2 separate regions of the Homo sapiens genome follow, and region 2 is linked to region 1. Evidence: promoter capture Hi-C in human tissues and cell types (Jung and others, 2019). All regions are on one chromosome and are shown on one strand. Each heading gives the region's core, a stretch centred on a gene start or on the middle of the fragment in contact. The rest is flanking DNA. Distances are from core to core; before and after follow the strand shown.

Evidence for each region. The method cuts DNA at HindIII sites, captures the fragments that hold promoters and counts their contacts. A contact is called where the count stands out against the background at its distance.
Region 2: a contact is called between a fragment that was not itself captured here and the fragment with the promoter of RBM43 in region 1, in 1 of the 25 tissues and cell types used here (dorsolateral prefrontal cortex).

What each region holds. Positions count from the first base shown.
Region 1 is chr2:151,259,148-151,263,826 of GRCh38, reverse strand. It overlaps RBM43 (RNA binding motif protein 43), which reads left to right and starts at 1,964. Exons shown (of 4, transcript NM_198557.3): 1 at 1,964-2,102. The coding sequence starts at 2,100. RefSeq lists an enhancer at 1,881-2,110 and a silencer at 2,151-2,420. The HindIII fragment of the contact is 11,595 bases long and covers 1-4,679 here.
Region 2 is chr2:149,909,585-149,914,263 of GRCh38, reverse strand. No RefSeq gene overlaps it. Among named protein-coding and RNA genes, the nearest start is that of LINC01931, 53 kb to the right of the region's middle. The HindIII fragment of the contact is 4,284 bases long and covers 587-4,679 here.

The DNA.
Region 1 (4,679 bases), core at 715-3,214:
GACATTCAAGTGGGCACTTAGATATATAAATCTGGAGATAAAATATAAATTGGGGAATTACATACAGATCTACCTCATGCTGTTTTTTTTTTTTTTCCTTCTTGAGATAGAGTCTTGTTCTCTCGCCCAGGCTGGAGTGCAGTGGTGTGATCTTGGCTCACTCTGCCTCCCGGGTTCAAGCGATTCTCTAGCCTCAGCCTCCCGAGTAGCTGAGATTACAGGTGTGTGCCACCACGCCCGGCTAATTTTTGTATTTTTAGTACAGACGGGTTTCACCATGTTGCTCAAGCTGGTCTTGAATTCCTGAGCTCAAAATGATCCGCCCACCTTGGCCTCCCAAAGTTCTGGGAATACAGGCGGGAGCCACTTCCCCCTACCTCATTCTGTTTTAAAATCTTCATAGCCTTGTGCCTTACTGATATATCATCAGCCGTATAACAAATAGCTCCATCCAATGATAAACTAGGTGGATCCCAGTTTATAAAAAAATTATTACTACCTGTATTTCAAGCAATGTACAACTAAAATTTCTATACAATATCTTAGTGCCATTTGCGCACTATAACTTCAAGTTCAGTTCTAAAAGTAGAATTGCTGAGACTAAGAATATGTGCATTTTACATTTTTTTGCACTTTACATTTTGATAAAAATCTTTAGAAGTATTTGCATCCATCTATGCTTGCAGCAACTCTGATGCTTACATTCAGGCTAACACTTTCTGGTTTTGCAGATCTAGTTGTGAAAAATGGTATCTTATTATTTCAATTTACATTTCTTAGGAGTGGGATTGGGTTTCTTCATATCTGCTAGCCATCTACCTTTGTTCTTCATGCATTCATTGATTTGATTTTGAAGTTTGTCCAGAGATTCCCTGTGTCCCCACAGGCGCCATTCGGGGTTCCTGTGCTAAGGCATGGACAAGGTGGTGAGCTCTCTGCTGGCAGGGACCTGGCGCTCTCATCCTGTGTCCTTAGCACCCGGCAGAGGTCCAAGAGGGCTCCTGGTCTGGGCTGGGAAGGTGACCAACACGGCGTTGGGGGTTGAGGTGGGGGTTGGGGAACTGGGGTAGGTTGTGCAGAGGAAAAGGCCCAGGTGAGCGGTGGGGGAAGGGGAAGAAGTCTGGACAGATAATAAGGGCGTAGGAAAGACATCCAGATTTCACTGAGTGCAGGGCTTTTTAAAACTGATGTTAGAAAAACTTGATTTGCTGTTGTAAAAAACCATCTGTGTGAAGTAGAAATTGATATCAATAACATGATAGAGAATACGTTCTAAAAAGTAAAGGTAGCTGGATGTAAAATTCTGGCAGAAGTTTAATATCCTAGATGGTTAGTTTGAGGCCAGCAACTAATGAGGATAAAAGCCTTCTCCATGGAAAATTTTGGACAGTTATCTGGAGAAATATTACAGTGCGCATCAACCAAATTGAAATGTTTTCAAAAGTGTTGTAAAGTTTCATGTAGTAAAAAGGTTTTAGCCACATGCCCTTCAATTTCATGGCATCGAATATATAAACACAGAAGAGAGCATGCATGCAAGATATTTAACTCCCTTACATGATAATGCATGCGATTCAAAACTATCATGACATCTAGGGCTCTCTGCAACTACGAGATGATTGATGTTAGGAAAAGCGTAGCCCCCCAGTATCAACACAGGAAGCGGCCACCACCTACTATGTGTTTTCCCTTTTTGCGTTTTTTCTTTTTTTAAATCAACTCTGCCGTTGTTGCTGCTGCTTAGCAAAACGGGTAAAAACAAAATTGCAATCACTGATGCATCACCCAGAGAATTCCCAAATTTCCTGTCGAGGAATCCTCTCGGCCTCTCTCCAGAGTGCTTCCACAAGTTGCAAAACTACGGAGGGCGTCTGGGCAGGCGCTGGCAACAGCACTCCTGAGTCCGAGCTCCCACTCAGAGGCCACGAGGTCGCAGAACAGCCGGATCGGGTGGAAGGACCGCCCTTTTCTTCGTAGCCTCCAAGGGAGCTGGAACAAAAAACGAAACCAAAACCTGCCTGCTCGCTCCTCTCCCCATCGCCTGCGTTCCGCTGGTTGTGGGCTTTCTGCGGCCGCTGAGGGCGCGTCTCCCCTCCGCCATGGCAAGTTGCTTTTGCTTTGGGTTTTGCGGTGCAGGTCCGTGCCTGTACCGTCGCCATGGTCCCCTAGAAGGGCGCGGAACCGGGCGCGACGGGCCAGGGTGCAGGGCTGCGCGGGAGGGGGCGGCGCACGGAGGGGCCCCAGGGACCCCGGGGGCCCCGGAGAGCCGTCCACCCCGGCGGGCAAACTCAGGTCAGCCTCGCTGCACCCTTCCCAGGTGGCGGCATTGCGCGCTCCTGAAATTCACGTACGGCGGTGCAGTATAGGCCCGCTCCAGAGGCTCAGGACTAGGCTGTCACCTCCCACACCCACTGCCCAGGCGACGGGGACGCCGCCGTTCGTCGAGGAGCTGCTTCGCAGGCTGTTAGGGCTTAACTGTTGTCCTCCCACGCCTCGGGGGGAACAAAAGTGGCCTGATTAGCCAGAAATGGAGGTCACAGCTGCCTTTTGAAAAGGGCTAATAAGAACGATTCGAGCCAAGGACGCAAGTCAGGAAGACATCCTCATGTCTTATGTCTGCCTTGGTGCGAATTCTTGTCTTAGCAAATTCAAAATTTATCCTTCTGTGTTTTGTTTTGTTTCCATCAATCGCTTAAAAGCCTTGGCAAGGCCTTTAATTCCTGCTCTGAAATGCTAGAGTCCCGGAAATGCAAAAGCAAGTACGTTTTTGTTGACCTGGTGGCGGTAGAGGCGTCGTCATTGAAAATAAACAACTGATTTTGAGAAAATCAATATAAACAAATGCAGTCAATGAATCTTCTGTTTCTTCCCAATGCCTTACTTACAAAAGTAAAGTTTTGCTATATACTTTTTGCTTTCTGATAAGATGGCCAAGTCTGTTATAACACAATACTGATGCAAGGAAATGCGCCATCACGTTAGTATGTCTTGGCTAAAAGCTGCTCGTTTCAAAGTCCTTGAAAGGACTGTCTTTCTCTAGGCATTTCTTTATCTTAATCGTGGGTAGAAGAGATGAACAACCCTCATTATTCATAATTGACCTCAGTAAAATTATCTATGTTAGCCATACTTTCTCCAACCTATGAAAGGGAGTTAAGGACAAATATTGGCAAGTCATTGAAGTACTAATTCATTAGATGATTCATAGAAACTAGTTCTTACCAAACAAAATTTACATCTTTATGTTTTTTTCTTCTAAAAATACTGGTTCAGGGAGAAGTTTCTTTGATTTTAAAGATAAATTACCAGTAGACATTCGAATAAAGAAATATGGTATTAGTACTAATGAGGGCATAGAGCTGAAGTAAGATTTCCTGAGTTTAAATTGATTGCATGTTTTTCTTTGATATTGTTGGGGTGCAGAAAATGATCTCCCTGCCCGGCACGGTGGCTCACGCCTGTAATCCCAGCACTTTGGGAGGCGAAGGAGGGCGGATCACTTGAGGTCAGGAGTCTCTACTAAAAATACAAAAATTAGCTGGGCGTGATGGCATCCACCTGTAGTCTCAGCTACTGGGGAGGCTGAGGTGGGAGGATCACTTGAGCCCAGGAGGCGGAGGTTGCAGGGAGCCAAGATCACGCCATTGTTCTCCAGCCTGGGCAACAGAGCGAGGCGCTGTCTAAAAAAAAAAAAAGACTTCGAGAGGCCGAGGGGGGAGCGGATCACGAGGTCAGGAGTTTGAGACCAGCCTGGTCAACATGGTGAAACCCCATCTCTACTAAAAATACAAAAATTAGTCGGGCATGGTGGCTGATGCCTGTAGTCCCAGCTACTCAGGAGGCTGGGGCAGGAGAATCGCTTGAACCCGGGAGGTGGAGGTTGCAGTGAGCCAAGATCGCGCCACTGCACTCCAGCGTAGGTGACAGAGCTAGACTCCATCTCAAAACAAACAAACAAACAAAAAACAAGAAAAGAAAAAGATCTCCCAAAAGAAATAAAAACAAATGCAGTGAGTGAATCTTCTATTTCTCCCTAGTGCTTCACTTAGAAAAATAAAGTTTTTCTTTATGCCTTTTTTGCTTTCTGATATGATGGCCCTGCCTTTATTCTTACATTGACAGGGTTGAGCATTTCTGTTTTTTTGTAACCATATTTAAATTTTCAATGTTTTTATTTTTATTTTTTTTGAGACAGAGTCTCACTCTGTCACCCAGGCTGGAGTGCAGTGGTGCGATCTTGGCTCACTGCAACCTCCACCTCCTGTGTTCCAGCCATTCTGGTTCCTCAGCCTCTGGAGTAGCTGGGATTACAGGCGCCTGCCTCCACTAATTTTTGTATTTTTAGTAGAGATGGCGTTTCACTATGTTGGCCAGGCTGATCTCGAACTCCTGACTTCAAGTGATCTGCCCACCTCATCTTCCCAAAGTGTTGGGATTACAGCCGTGAACTACTGCACCTGGCCTTTTTTAAGACTTAGCAGGTTTGGTCTAAAGGTGAAAAACCGATAATAATGTAAACAGTAAATATTGTTTATAGCAGGTCCCAATAGTGTGCTATGATTACTTTTTCTCCTTTTGGTCCAGTGTTATGTGTATTTTTCCTTTTCCACTTCTAGGAAAATGTTCCCAGCAAATGGGTCAAATGGATTTTCTTTCTTTCTTTCCTTTCTTTCTTCCTT
Region 2 (4,679 bases), core at 1,479-3,978, 1.4 Mb after region 1:
CATTTGGGTTCCTTCTGTTTTTTTTTTTTTTTTTTTTTTTTTCTGTTACAAATAGAGTAACTATGAACACTTGCATACAGGTCTTTGTGTGGATATATGTTTCCATTTCTCTTGGGTAAATACATAGAAGTGACATTTCTGGATTGAATGGTATAGATATTTTTAACTTTATTTGAAACTGCCAGACTGTTTTCCATGTGGTTATACTATTTTACAACCTCACCAGCAAAGTATAAAAGTTCCAGTTTCTCTGGATCCCTGTCAGCACTTGGTAATATGAATCTTTAATTTTGGCCAATCTAGTGGATGTAAACTGGTAATTCAATTTAGCTTTAATTTGCATTTTATTCATGACTAATAACATTAACAACTTTTCAAGTGGTTATTCACATTCTTATATCTTCTTCTGTGAAGCTAAATCTTTTGCACATTTTTTGTTTTGTTGTTATTTTACTTTAAGTTCTGGGATACATGTGCAGAATGTGCAGGTTTGTTACATAGGTATACATGTGCCAGGGTGGTTTGCTGCATCTATCAATGCATCATCTAGGTTTTAAGCCCCGCATGGATTAGGTATTTGTCCTAATGCTGTCCCTCCCTTGCCTCCCACCCGCTGACAGGCTCTGGTATGTGATTTTCCCCTCCCTGTGTCCATGTGTTCTCATTGTTCAACTCCCACTTATGAGTAAGAACATGCAGTGTTTGGTTTTCTGTTCCTGTGTTAGTTGGCTGAGAATGATAGCTTCCAGCTTCATCCATGTCCCAGCAAGGACATGAACCCATTCTTTTTTATGGCTGTGTAGTATTCCATTGTGTATATGTGCCACATTTTCTTTATCCAGTCTATCATTGGTGGGCATTTGGGTTGGTTCCATGTCTTTGCTGTTGTAAATAGTGCTGCAATAAACACACATGTGCATGTGTCTTTATAGTAGAATAATTTATAATCCTTTGGGTATATGACCACTAATGAGATTGCTGGGTCAAATGGTATTTCTGGTTGTAGAACCTTGAGGAATTGCCACACTGTCTTCTTCAATGGTTGAACTAATTTATACTACCACCAACAGTGTAAAAGCATTCTTATTTCTCCAATGCCTAGCCAGCATCTGTTGTTTCCTGACTTTTTAATAATCAGAATTCTCACTGGAATGAGATGGTATCTCATCATCAAAATCATTGGTTTTGATTTGCATTTCTCTAATGACCAGTGATCATGAGTTTTTTTCATATATTTGTTGGCCACATAAATGTCTTCTTTTGAGAAGTGTCTGTTCGTATCCTTCACCCACTTTTTGATGGGATTTTTTTTTTCTTGTAAATTTGTTGAAGTTCCTTGTGGATTCTGGATATTAGCCTTTTGTCAGATGGATAGATTGCAAAAATTTTCTCCCATTCTGTAGGTTACATGTTCACTCTGATAATTGTTTATTTTACTATGCAGAAGATCTTCAGTTTGATTAGATCCCATTTGTCAGTTGTTGCCATTGATTTTGGTGTTTTAGTCATGAAGTCTTTGCCCATGCCTATGTCCTGAATTGTATTGCCTAGGTTTTCTTCTAGGGTTTTTATGGTTTTAGTTCTTACATTTAAGTCTTTGATCCATCCTGAGTAATTTTTGTATAAGGTGTAAGGAAGGGGTCCAGTTTCAGTTTTCTGCACATGGCTAGCCAGTTTTCCCAACACCATTTATTAAACAGGGAATCCTTTCCCCATCACTTGTTTTTGTCAGGTTTGTCAAAGATCAGATGGTTGTAGATGTGTGGTGTTATTTCTGAGGATTCTGTTCTGTTACATTGCTCTGTATATCTGTTTTGGTACCAGTACCATGCTGTATTGGTTACTATATTGTTGTAGTATAGTTTTAAGTCAGGTAGTGTGATGCCTCCAGCTTTGTTCTTTTTGCTTAGGATTGTCTTGGCTATACAGGTTCTTTTTTGGTTCCACATGAAATTTAAAGTAGTTTTTTCTAATTCTGTGAAGAAAGTCACTGGTAGCTTGATTGGAATAGCATTGAATCTATAAATTATTTTGGGCAGTATGGCCATTTTTACAATATTGATTCTTCCTATCCATGAGCATGGAATGTTTTTCCATTTGTTTGTGTCCTCTTACTTCCTTGAGCAGTGGTTTGTAGCTCTCCTTGAAGAGATCCTTCATGTCCCTTGTAAGTTTTATTCCTAGGTATTTTATTCTCTTTGTAGCACATGTGAATGGGAGTTCACTTATGATTTGGCTCTCTGCTTGTCTATTATTGGTGTATAGGAATGCTTGTGATTTTTGCACATTAATTTTGTATCCTGAGACTTTGCTGAAGTTGCTCATCAGCCTAAGGAGTTTTTGGGCTGAAACAATGGTGTTTTCTAAATATAGAATCATGTTGTCTTCAAGCAGAGACAACTTGACTTTCTTCTTCCGATGTGAATACCCTTTATTTCTTTCTCTTGTCTGATTGCCCTGGCCAGAAATTCCAATATTGCATTGAATAGAAGTGGTGAGACAGGGCATACTTGTCTTGTGCTGGTTTTCAAAGGGAATGCTTCCAGCTTTTGCCCATTCAGTATGATACTGGCTATGGGTTTGTCATAAATAGCTCTTATGAGATATGTTCCATCAATACCTAGTTTATTGAGAGTTTGTAGCATGAAGGGATGTTGAATTTTATCGAAGGTCTTTTCTGCATCTATTGAGATAATCATGTGGTTTTTGTCATTGGTTCTGTTCATGTGATGGATTACGTTTATTGATTTGAATATGTTGAACCAGCCTTGCATCCCAGGGATGAAGCAGACTTGATTGTGGTGGATAAGCTTTTTGATGTGCTACTGGATTCAGTTTGCCAGTATTTTATTGAGGATTTTTGCATCAATGTTCATCTGGGATATTGGACTGAAATTTTCTTTTTTTATTATATCTCTGCCCGGTTTTGGTATCAGGATGATGCTGGTCTCATAAAATGAGTTAGGGAGGAGTCCCTCTTTTTCTATTGTTTGGGATAGTTTCAGAAGGAATGGTACCAGCTCCTCTTTGTACCTCTGGAAGAATTCAGCTGTGAATCCGTCTGGTCTTGGGCTTTTTTTGTTTGTTTTTGGTTGATAGGCTATTCTATTAATTACTGCCTCAATTTCAGAACATGTTTTTGGTCTATTCAGGGGTTCACCTTCCTCCTGGTTTAGTCTTTGCAGGGTGTATGTGTCCAGGAATTTATCCATTTCTCCTAGATTTTCTAGTTTATTTACATAGAGGTGTTTATAGTATTCTCTGATGGTAGTTCTTATTTCTGTGGGATCAGTGGTGATATCCCCTTTAACATTTTTATTGTGTCTTTTTGATTCTTCTCTCTTTTCCTCTTTTGCAGGTTTTTAATCGCATCATCTTCTTGAGTTGTAAATTTCTAAGGAAAGTTTTCCTGCACAATATAGATATTATTGTGTGTTTGCTAATATTTTCTGCAATTCTAGTTGTTTGCCTTTTCAAATTTCCTTGCAGTGTCTTTCAAGAGCTGAAGTTTTAATTTTGATGAAGTCCACATTATCTTTTTTCTTTAGTAGTTCATTCATTTCTTAGCATTTCTTGCTAAGGAATGTTTGCCTAACCAATATCACAAAATTTTTTGTGTGTATTTTTTTTAGGGAATTTTATTGTTTTAATTCTTATATGGTGGTCTCATTCGTTTTGAGTTTATTTTTATATATGATACCAGGTAAGAAGGGAGGTCGTAATTTTCCATACAAATGTCCAATTATTCTAGCACCATTTATTGAAAGACTATTCTTTTCCCTATTGAATCACTCTGAAACTTCTAGGTCTATTTTTAGAGTCATTATTCTGTTACATTGATCTACATACCTCTCCTACTGCCAATATTTCCTCATATATTTATCTTTTACTTAATTCCTATACTGTTTTTAATTCTCTTAAAGTATGCGGGTTTTTTTTTTGTTTTTTTGTTTTTTTGTTTTTTTGTTTTTGAGATTGGTGTCACTTCATTGCCCAGGCTGGTGTGCAACGGCGTGATCACAGCTCACTGCAATCTCAACCTCCCAGGCTCCTGTTATCCTCCCACCTCAGCTTCCCAAGTAGCTGGGACTACAGGCATGTGTTACCATGCCTGGCTAATTTTTTGTATATTTTATAGAGACAGCGTTTTTTCATGTTGCCCAGGCTGGTCTCAAACTCCTGTGTTCAAGTGATCTGCCCACCTTGGCCTCCCAAAATTAAGACAATATGGTTTTGTGCAGAAAAGAGATAATATAGCAGGCCTGAAATGGCTATCCTTAGAAAAACCTGCTTGCAAGCTTCGCCCTTGACTGGCATCTGGAAACTTGGATTTCAGAAACACTGCCACCATTCCTAGCTGAGAAGAGTGGCTCACTGCGCCCAAACTGTGTGAGCAGTGTAGTTAATACTGAACACCTGATTTCCTTCTGGGAATCAGGGATTTTGGAATGTGCTAGGCAGGGGGTGCCTACCAGACTTACCTCACATGAAAACCCTGGGCACTGTGTCCTGAATGATTTTCCCTGGTAGGCATATCAGGGACATTGTCCCAATTTATCACTGGAGAAATTAAGCACATCCTGGGTGACTGCACTGGAGAGGACTCATGGAAGCTTGTGTGTGATTGCCTCTTGACTTTGTTCCACCCACCTTTTGCTTTAGTAAATTTTACTTTGTGT